Regions from separate parts of the Homo sapiens genome. Here region 2 is linked to region 1. Evidence: promoter capture Hi-C in 16 types of primary human blood cells and fetal thymus (Javierre and others, 2016). All regions are on one chromosome and are shown on one strand. The core of a region is centred on a gene start or on the middle of the fragment in contact, and the rest is flanking DNA. Distances in the headings are between cores, read along the strand shown.

What was found. The method cuts DNA at HindIII sites, captures the fragments that hold promoters and counts their contacts. A CHiCAGO score of 5 or more calls a contact.
Region 2: a fragment that was not itself captured here is called in contact with the fragment with the promoter of CEP70 in region 1 in 1 of 17 cell types (total B cells); the score reaches 9.3 in total B cells.

The regions. Positions count from the first base shown.
Region 1 is chr3:138,591,146-138,595,592 of GRCh38, forward strand. CEP70 (centrosomal protein 70) reads right to left here and starts at 3,115. Exons shown (of 18, transcript NM_024491.4): 1 at 3,053-3,115; 2 at 709-811. RefSeq lists an enhancer at 3,320-3,379. The HindIII fragment of the contact is 6,508 bases long and covers 2,725-4,447 here.
Region 2 is chr3:142,025,606-142,030,418 of GRCh38, forward strand. All of the region lies in intron 3 of TFDP2 (transcription factor Dp-2), which reads right to left. Among named protein-coding and RNA genes, the nearest start is that of TFDP2, 120 kb to the right of the region's middle. RefSeq lists a silencer at 2,335-2,384 and enhancers at 2,771-3,272, 3,679-3,728. The HindIII fragment of the contact is 204 bases long and covers 2,378-2,581 here.

The DNA of each region.
Region 1 (4,447 bases), core at 1,865-4,364:
CTTTTTGAGCACCAACTTGACACCACAAGTAGAAAATTCCACACCTGACCTTATGTGACAGGTCACAGTCACAACTTCATTTCATGCATAAAACTATTAAAAATGTATAAAATTAGCTTCAGGCTGTGTGTATAAGCTGTATATGAAACAATAAATGAATTTTGTGTTTAGAGTTACCCAACTCTAAACAAGATACCTCATGTATATACAAATATTCCAATTTTTTTTTTAATCTAAAAGTCCAAAACATAGTTCCAAGCATTGCAGGTAAGGGATACTCAACCTGCAGAGCTCTGTAGCCAGACTGCCTGGGTTCAAATCATGGATTCTGCCACACAGCCAGGAGAGTACAGTACTAATCTCTGTGTGCTTCAATTTCCTCATCATAAAATAAGGATAATAAAAGTACTCAGCTCACGAGTTAAAGATTAGAAGAGTTAATATAGAAAGAACATAAAGCATTGTCTGGCACACAGCAGGATGGAGACTGTGATTAGAGTTGGTGATCAGCTTTCTGTGTTATCTTAAGTAGGTATTTAACCTCTCTGAGCTTCAGCTTCTTTGCTGAGTTGTAAAATATCTACCTGATAGGATTATCAGGAAGTCAAAAGGAAATATATGTAATGAACCTAGTATAGTACTCAATAAATATTAGATTTTTTTCCATGGCCTCCCAACATCTGGAGTCATCCGTTACATTAGACATACCTCAGTCATAGCATATTACTCTTGCACTTTACACCTGGTCATTCAGGTTGATCTCAATGAAATGATCACCCAACGAGTCTCATGTCTGAAACTGGATCTTCATCTAGGTTTCAAAAAGATAAAAAGAACAAAATCTTGAAATGTTCAACCTCCTAGTAAGAATGGTCTTGTGTTACTCCCAGAGCAGGCATCCAAGGTACTGGTAATCACAGATAAAGCAGGCACAACTGAAATAACTGCTAATGGCCTTCCCAGCTCACCATCATATGCCTCTTCCCTTCTCTTCTCTCTCCTTCTTATCTTTCCTCTCCCTACCTTGTTAAGACATTTAGCTGGGTATCCAAATCTATCATCATCTATCATCAATTCTGACTTCTGGCTCCACAGGTAGGATATTCTCATTTGCAAGGATACTAAAATGAAGCATCCTCAGACAAACTACCACTGATCACAAAAGCAAACACAGGAACAAAACTACTCCTCATTTGCACCTGTGACCAAGCCCTCCTTTTCAGAGGACCATTCTGTGAAATAAACGGGCCAATAGTTTGCAGCAGCCTTTTCCCCACTACAGGCTGTGACAGGACAAAGGTCTGGAACTTTAAAGTCACAGGAAGAGACCAAATGCTTTCTAGGGCCAAAACAGAAGCTACAGCTTTAATTACTGTCATAACACACTTAAAATAAGATTGTTGGGGGTAGGAGTCGGGGGGTAGGAGTCGGAGGGTAGGAGTTGATTTGTACATGGCATAGTAAGCCAAGCATAGAAAAGCAAAAACATAATTGCATCTTCTGGCACTTTCTAGGTTTCCCGAGTCTTTCAGCCAAATTGCCCTTTATAGGTCTGAAGCCCCTTGTAACATGCTCCATATCTTAAAATTTAATTATTTTTTTCACCATTTGGGGTGGGGGAGGGGAGCTGACAATAAACCATGGCCAATAACTGTTCCTTCTCAACTGAATCACACCAAAATCTGTAAGCATCTTCAAAAGTATATACTTCAAATTACTGCAATAAATGAACATGTAACCCTTTCGAAGTCTCTATTCCTTATTAAATGCAAAAGCTCTATTCTAAAAATATTGCAACTTGCTGTTTAATGTTCCTAAGAAAGAGCTGAACTTACCCCAAATAGGAAAGAGTTAAAATGGAATGTCATCTCAACCAAATCATTCTGTCTCAGGAGAGGTGACATGAAGGGGCAGAACCTTGCTTTGAAGCAAAAGCTGTAGGGAAAACTCCAAGTCAGCCACCTCTTCCCCAAAAGGCGGGGCAGGGGAGGCCAGAGTCTACTTGGCAATATTTAAAGTACAAAACTCATGCAGAGGCTTGAAACCAATATGGGTAATGCCTGCACAGAGTTTAATATATTATACATATATTTTTGAGACAGAGTCTCGCTCCGTCACCCAGGCTGGAGTGCAGTGGCGCGATCTCGGCTCACAGCAACCTCCGCCTCCCGAGTTCAAGCGATTCTGCTGCCTCACCCGCCCGAGTAGCTGGGATTACAGGCGCACACCACCATGCCCAGCTAATTTTTGTATTTTTAGTAGAGACGTGGTTTCATCATGTTGGCCAGGGTGGTCTCGAACTCCTGACCTCAGGGGATCCGCCCACCTCGGCCTCCCAAAGTGCTGAGATTACAGGCGTAAGCCACTGCGCCCTGCCTGTTTAATATCATTGATTGAAAAACAAAGTGGCAGTAAAAAAGGAAACTCTGATTGGTCTCTCTGTTACAGGTGACTTAGCCTTCTGGCATTTTTCACCTTGAAAAACTCCTATTAGGCCCTGTATAAAGTCAGAGGTCTCCTGAATCCGGAATGAGGTTAATAAACTGGAGAAAGAGATACTCACCTGTGCTATTCGCCTAACCGCCCCCTTCTGCTCCGAGTCCTCACTCCCCAAACAACCTTCGCGGTTGTTTGACACAAAACTAGCGCTTCAGCCCGGGTCGATTTTGGGGGATGGAGTAATTACCTACAGCTTAAATCGAGTCTGTGCCCGACGTGATTCTAAGCTTTACTCTTACTGCCTCATTTAACCCTCACAACCACCTTGTAAGGCAAGAATTACCAGCTTTAGTATACAAATAAAGAATCGGAGGCGCTGAGACATTAAAGGAGAAGCCAAAGAACACAAAGCCTGGGGAGCTGGGACTGGAGGCAGTTTTGTCCGATCCCCAAACCCTTACGCAGGGATTTTTAATTGGCGCGACCCTGTCCCAGATGGCTCCTCCCCGACAAGGGTCAGTCTGACCACTTTTAGGCCCAGGTGAGGTCAAGTCCGGGGTACTCCGGGAAGGGGCTCACGCCGACGCCTCTGAGAGCCCCGAGAGCCACTCACCTTACTCAGTCGCCGGCCTCCCACCAGCAGCCAGCCGGGCCAGGTTAGGCTGGGATCAGCTACGTCAGGCCCCGCCTCCGCGACCGTTACCACCGCCGGGGGAGGGCGGCCAATCGAGCCCGAGCGCGTCGAGGGCCAGCCCCTCTTTGGCCTGCGAATGCCCCCAAACGATTCTCTCCAGCCTCTCCGGGAAGCTGGGTCCGCCCCGCTCCCTCCGGTTGGCTCACTACGGGGGGCGGGGCTTACCGCAAACGAAGGCGTCGGTGCGATGTGCTGGTCTCGGGCACGCTGGCGCTTCCAACGCACTCCTTGGGTGCCCTGTCACTTACATGGAGGCTTATTTGCCCGGAAGACGTCAGAAATACTTGTGGCCGTGGGTGAAAGTGAAGCCTGGGTTACCTGGCCACCAGAGACTGCCCTCTCTCTCGCCCCCTACCCCGCCGCGACTACGAGCCCTTGCTGGGGTACGGGTCAGCATGTTCTCGATGTTCCAGACCTGAATGACCACTGTAGCAGCTGACATTTGGAGGACCCCAATAAATATTTGTTGACGACAGTTCATCTTCCCATTCAGCATTTTCCACATCTCGACGAAGCGTCAGGCCCTACCTGAGGCTGTAGCTGTCCACCATTGTCATTGTATCTTATAGCCACATGGTGTCGCTGTTGACAACTTGTCTTTTCAAATCAGTCAAATGATGTAGGTCTGTGTTACAGTCAAATGTTGCAACAGACTGTGTTGCAGTCAAATGATGCAGGTCCCACAGTAGCCAACAGGGATGTCCCATCTAGGGCATCAGCCAAGGGTCTCTCATCAGGAGATCCAAGGGCTCTTGGAGCTCAATACTTTCAGACCCTTCTTAGCCTTCTTCCAGGCAGCTGGGACTACACTTAGGTTTGATCTCTGTGTTTGCCCCATGCAAACATGTCCCTACCCCAACCTACGCCTACCCACTGTGCTTTCCATACCTGGATATTCACTCTAACGACGGTTAGCAGATTGCATTTTCAGTTCTCAAAATGCAAATAGTCTCAGTGCTTCCCTTTTCCAAGATAATAGGGTGCCCTTGCATACTCTTCTGAGAATGGCTGCCCTAATTGTAGAGGCCAAACATCTTTGAGTCAGTTATTATTATTTTGGATGCACGTGATATAGAATCTGAGTTAAACTGTCTTCCTAAAAAATAAAGAAGTTGCTTATCTCGCATAACAGAAAGCTCAGAGGCAAGGGAGACTTTGATTAATTCAGTGGCTAAGCAAGTTAACAAGGACCCAGTTGCTATTAGTCTCTGCTTTGTTGTAAAAAAAAAAAAGGGTAGACTTCAAATTCATACTAACGTGATTTTCCAGATGTCTACTTGGAGAAATCAGGACCACATACTTTCTTTTTCATCT
Region 2 (4,813 bases), core at 1,230-3,729, 3.4 Mb after region 1:
TCTGTTCTTTGATCAGAATTGTAAAAAAAGTTCTTTAGGCAAATCTATAGTTTGTAAATCCATTTTAAAGTCCATGTAAATTGTTTTACTTATTTTAGAGAGAAAAAACCTCAACCATTACATGTTGCTATTCCTTAAGATAAGCAAAATGTACATAGATAAGTTTTAGAATCTGAATCTTAATTGAAATAATGATTCAATAAACTTCAAAGGCCAGGCGTGTGGGCGCATGCCTGTAATCCCAGCTACTTGGGGGGCTGAGGAAGGAGAATCGCTTGAACCCAGGAGGCAGAGGTTGCAGTGAGCCGAGATCACACCATTGCACTCCAGCCTGGGCAACAAGAGCGAAACTCCATCTCAAAAAACAAACAAACTTCAAAATCTCTAAATTTGGTCATCATTATTTGAAGAAAAGAAAATCTTCTGGCCGGCGCAGTGGCTCACGCCCATAATCCCAGCACTCTGGGAGGCCGAGGTAGGCGGATCTCAAGGTCGGGAGATCGAGACCATCAGGCCGAGGTGGGCAGATCACGAGGTCAGGAGATTGAGACCATCCTGGCTAACATGATGAAACCCCATCTCTACTAAAAATACAAAAAATTAGCTGAGCGTGGTGGTGGACGCCTGTAGTCCCAGCTACTGGGGAGGCTGAGGCAGGTGAATGGTGTGAACCTGGGACGCAGAGCTTGCAGCGAGATTCCGTCTCAAAAAAACAAAAAAACAACAAAAAAAAACAACAAAAAAATAACTTCAGGTAAGCCCACAGATCTTAGCTAACAGCAAGAGGAATTTTTAATAATCTGCTTGAATGTTGATATCTTTTCCAGCCTTCTCTCTCCTTAGGCCAATTATTTAGAAAACTGTATAATAATTAATCCATATGCAAATTTTAAACTATAGCTCAAAAACTTTATTGGCTACTGTAAATTACTACGAATTTTCCAGTGTAGGGTATGGCAAATATTGAATAAGTGCCTCATATGTGAAAGAGCTGGTGCTCAGCACTGATTTTTCAAGAGCAAACTTAAGAAATGAATAAAGTTGTAATGTGTATACACGCACATTATACAACAGCATAGGACTTCTTTGTGTTACTTGTAAAAGGAAAGGTTTTCACTTTCCTCATTATGAATTCCAAAAATTCAAAAACTGTTTTTCAAAATTTTGACTGCTTTCATTACACGCATAATGCTTCCACACTCTTCATTCCTACTCTTTTCAGCAGATAAACATTCTCCTCTTTCCATTAGCAACCAATCCAAGCTTATTATCTTTCTTTTTAGAGGCAAACTGCAACATATCATTTCAATTAAACCCAAAATATTACTCCCATATTTCTTATGCAAAGGTCTTAGGAATAAGCCTCAGCTTCTCACAGAAGATGAAATCATCTATCAACATATGTAACTGATGTTTCTCATTTTATTTTCATTTTGAGATTTTGTACCTACTGTCTAGTGATAAACTTTTGCAACTGTTTCCTCTATATTTTAGATGGCTTAGGCTTTAAAAAAATGGTCTATATGATTTAATTATCAATTTTTTCCTTAAGTGAAGTTCAACAGAATTAATTTTCTCACATTTTCATTAATTATACAGGCTACAGGCAATATTTAAAGTTTTTTTTTAAATATTGGGTATGTTACTCATTTTGTTACTCTATGACTTTCAATTCCTGAATATAAAATAATAAATTTTAAATGACTAAATTTTATTTATTCACTGATTAAATCAGATTTATGACCTCCTCTCTCCATTCCAGCTACTCTGAGTTTTGAATGAAACAACCTCAATTGTAACAGAAGAAACATCTGTTGCTTTTTTTCTTCACCAGGGCTTTCCTAACTGAAAGAAGAAAGACTCTCTGCCTGACCTCCTCTCCCTCTCCCTCTCCCTCTCCCACTCCCGCTCCCCACCCACACTAAGTTCCTTAAAACTTTTTTAAGTAAATGTATTATTTAAAATTTCACTGTATCTATTAAAAACATCATAGTTTAGAAACATTCACTTCCTTATTGAACTTCAAAGAATGACTAAATGCTATTATATATCAAAAAATAAGACGTGTCTAATAGAATATACGTTGTAACTAAAATGCAAACTTCAAGGGTATAATTGAAATGATCAATTCAATCAAGTTGTCATATATTCCGGGGTCATTAAGAATTGTTTAGGGGTAAGATTTTCTTCACAGTATCCAGATTCATATAGCATCTTGTATGCTATATTTTCTTTGCCAGTCCAAGGCTAACATAATGGCAGTCACTACCCCAAGAGGCAGACACCAAATGGTGCCACCCACACTCTCACACTGTGCCTCATAATAAACCATAAAGCAGTGGAATGCACCGGCCCCTTTATGAGCAAACAATGCCTAAGCTTCATTAGAATACAGCTGACATTTTCAAAGCACAAATACTTTTAAGAAAAATGTACTAGGGAAAAAAAGGAATGAAACAGCTATAAAAGCTGAAATATTTTTCAAGTGTCAGGTTGATTTCCAAGGATCCTTGGGAAGTATATTTTGCTGTTGGCAATTTAAAAGTTTTCGTAAGTGGAAAAAATGTTTAGTTAAGGGCAAAGCTTATTTTATTAACTACTGGGGAAAAAAATGAAAGTAAAAACTATCCTTTGAATTGCTTTCACAAGTAATAACCATGAAGTACCTTTAAAATTACTGATTTCCTCAACTGCTGCTTTAGTTCCTGAATTAAGAAAACTGAGCTCCAGAATTATTTTCACATTTTAATTAATTTATATAAGTAACTGAGTAATAAACTAATTCTTCCCCTCCCCCCCCACCCCAACCCCCATACATAACCCTGTAGTTTTTCTGTCTGCAACAAGCAAGGACGTCTTGAAATCAGCGTGCTCCTGGCTATTTATCAATTTAATATTGCTGCTGCTTAAAGAATATAAAATAAGAGCTGTAAAAACTCACCCAGCAGTGAGAAACAAACTGATCTCTCTTACCTGGTCTAAGGAAGCATGCCTCTCACTGCAGTACCAACAACATTCTACAGTCTTTGTTACCATTCAGTGGAAACTTGAGACTGTGTCAGACGTAAGCAATCGAGCTCAGAAAAGCTCAATTTAAAATACTTCTCAGTAAAACTAAAAAGATGCTCAAGAAAACTGTTTAGTTAACTGGCTTTCAAAAGACATATGAATACTGTTTACAACAAAGACATCTCAAAAGAAATTGAAAAGTGCAGGTCTTAGATGAAGGGGCTTTTCTATGTAGAACCTTGTTTTCTTATTAAATTAAAAGGATATTTTTATTTTAAAAAATGCTTAAAGTACACACTTGATCTTAGCCAAAAGGCCGAGAAGCAATAAAAATGCTTAAAGTAAAAAGGGTGAAATAACTACAAGTTAACATTTTTCTAAATATCACTTGCCTTTTAACTAACTTAAAAAATAAGATTAAACTTACTCGTGAAACCTGCATAATTTGAATTATACATATCAGAGTATCTGCTGGCTCCAAAGCAGTCACAAAGCAGGAGACTTAATGCATCTTGAAAGCAGAGCAAAAGCACCACGAGTTTCAGGGGGAAAAGAGGAGGAGAAACTCTTGAAAAACTGGTCGGGGCTTTTTGAACCTGTAATAACTGTCCAGCTCTTGTGGGAGGAAAAAAATGTCCCAGTCCTGCCCCGAGATAGGAGGCTATGCTTCAATGCCAAAATGAATGACAGGCCCATTTCTGATATCAACAAAGAGCAGCTTAGTTGTGCTTTTTTTTTTTTTCCACTTTCCCACACAGAAGTTCTAAAATTTCCAGGTTAGTCCCTTTATAGCTAGGGTTAAGTACCTTTCTCCATTTTCTCAAGAGGGAACTCAATTATGTTGTCCTGGTTTTTTTTTAAATGACTAATTAAATATACATACCTAATCATCTTACTTAGTTTTCCTAGGCAGGAAGCTGAACAAAAGATGACCTCTTAGGTTCCTTTCCAAATCTATTCTTTTCAATATCAGATAACCATATGACTGTCAATATTAATAAGCTTTTCCAGCATCCTGATGTATGGCACAAGTAGAAACAAAAAGCAAGGTAACATTAAAAACAAAGCAACTGAGATAAAATTTTCAACTAGCAAGATGTAAAGATAATTTACCAAGGTATGTGTTTGATTACAGAAATTCAAAACAAACACTCCAATCAACAACATATATTTGCTGAATACTTATTATGAGCCGAGCACTATTTTGGGCCCTGGAGATACAGTAGTGAATGCAACAGACAAAAGCCAAACAAAAAATCTCTGTCTTTCGTGAGCTTAGTTTATTTCAGTTCACTCTAAGTACAACTCTCCTAGATGACTAAGGTACTTTTCCTTCGTTGACTAGTTATCACCTATTCTGAAATATTCCCCTTGGAAAGTATGTCTTGACAACAGCTCCAGGAGACGCTGTAAAGTATTTGGTGCTCCGTTCAGTGTTGTATCACCAGTGTCTAAAACAGTGTCTGTTAGACACTCAAATACATATTGAATCAAATAGATCAGAGAGCTTCTTCTTACTCAAAATTTTCCTTTGCCAACACATATTATACTTACATGCATACAGAGATATGACAACAATAATACAATACAGGGTGTAAATTAAACTGGGTTGTAAACACGTGTTAGTATAAACAAAACTGAAAATACAACCTATATGGCCCTCTATCTTTCCAGATTCTACAATAAAATCTGTTTTCACTACTGGATGTGAGGTCAGTATAATATCTGAGTAAATAAATCACATAAAATTCTATAAAGTAAGTTTTTGTGGACAGTCAGATTTCAGAGGAGTTTTGAAAGAAAA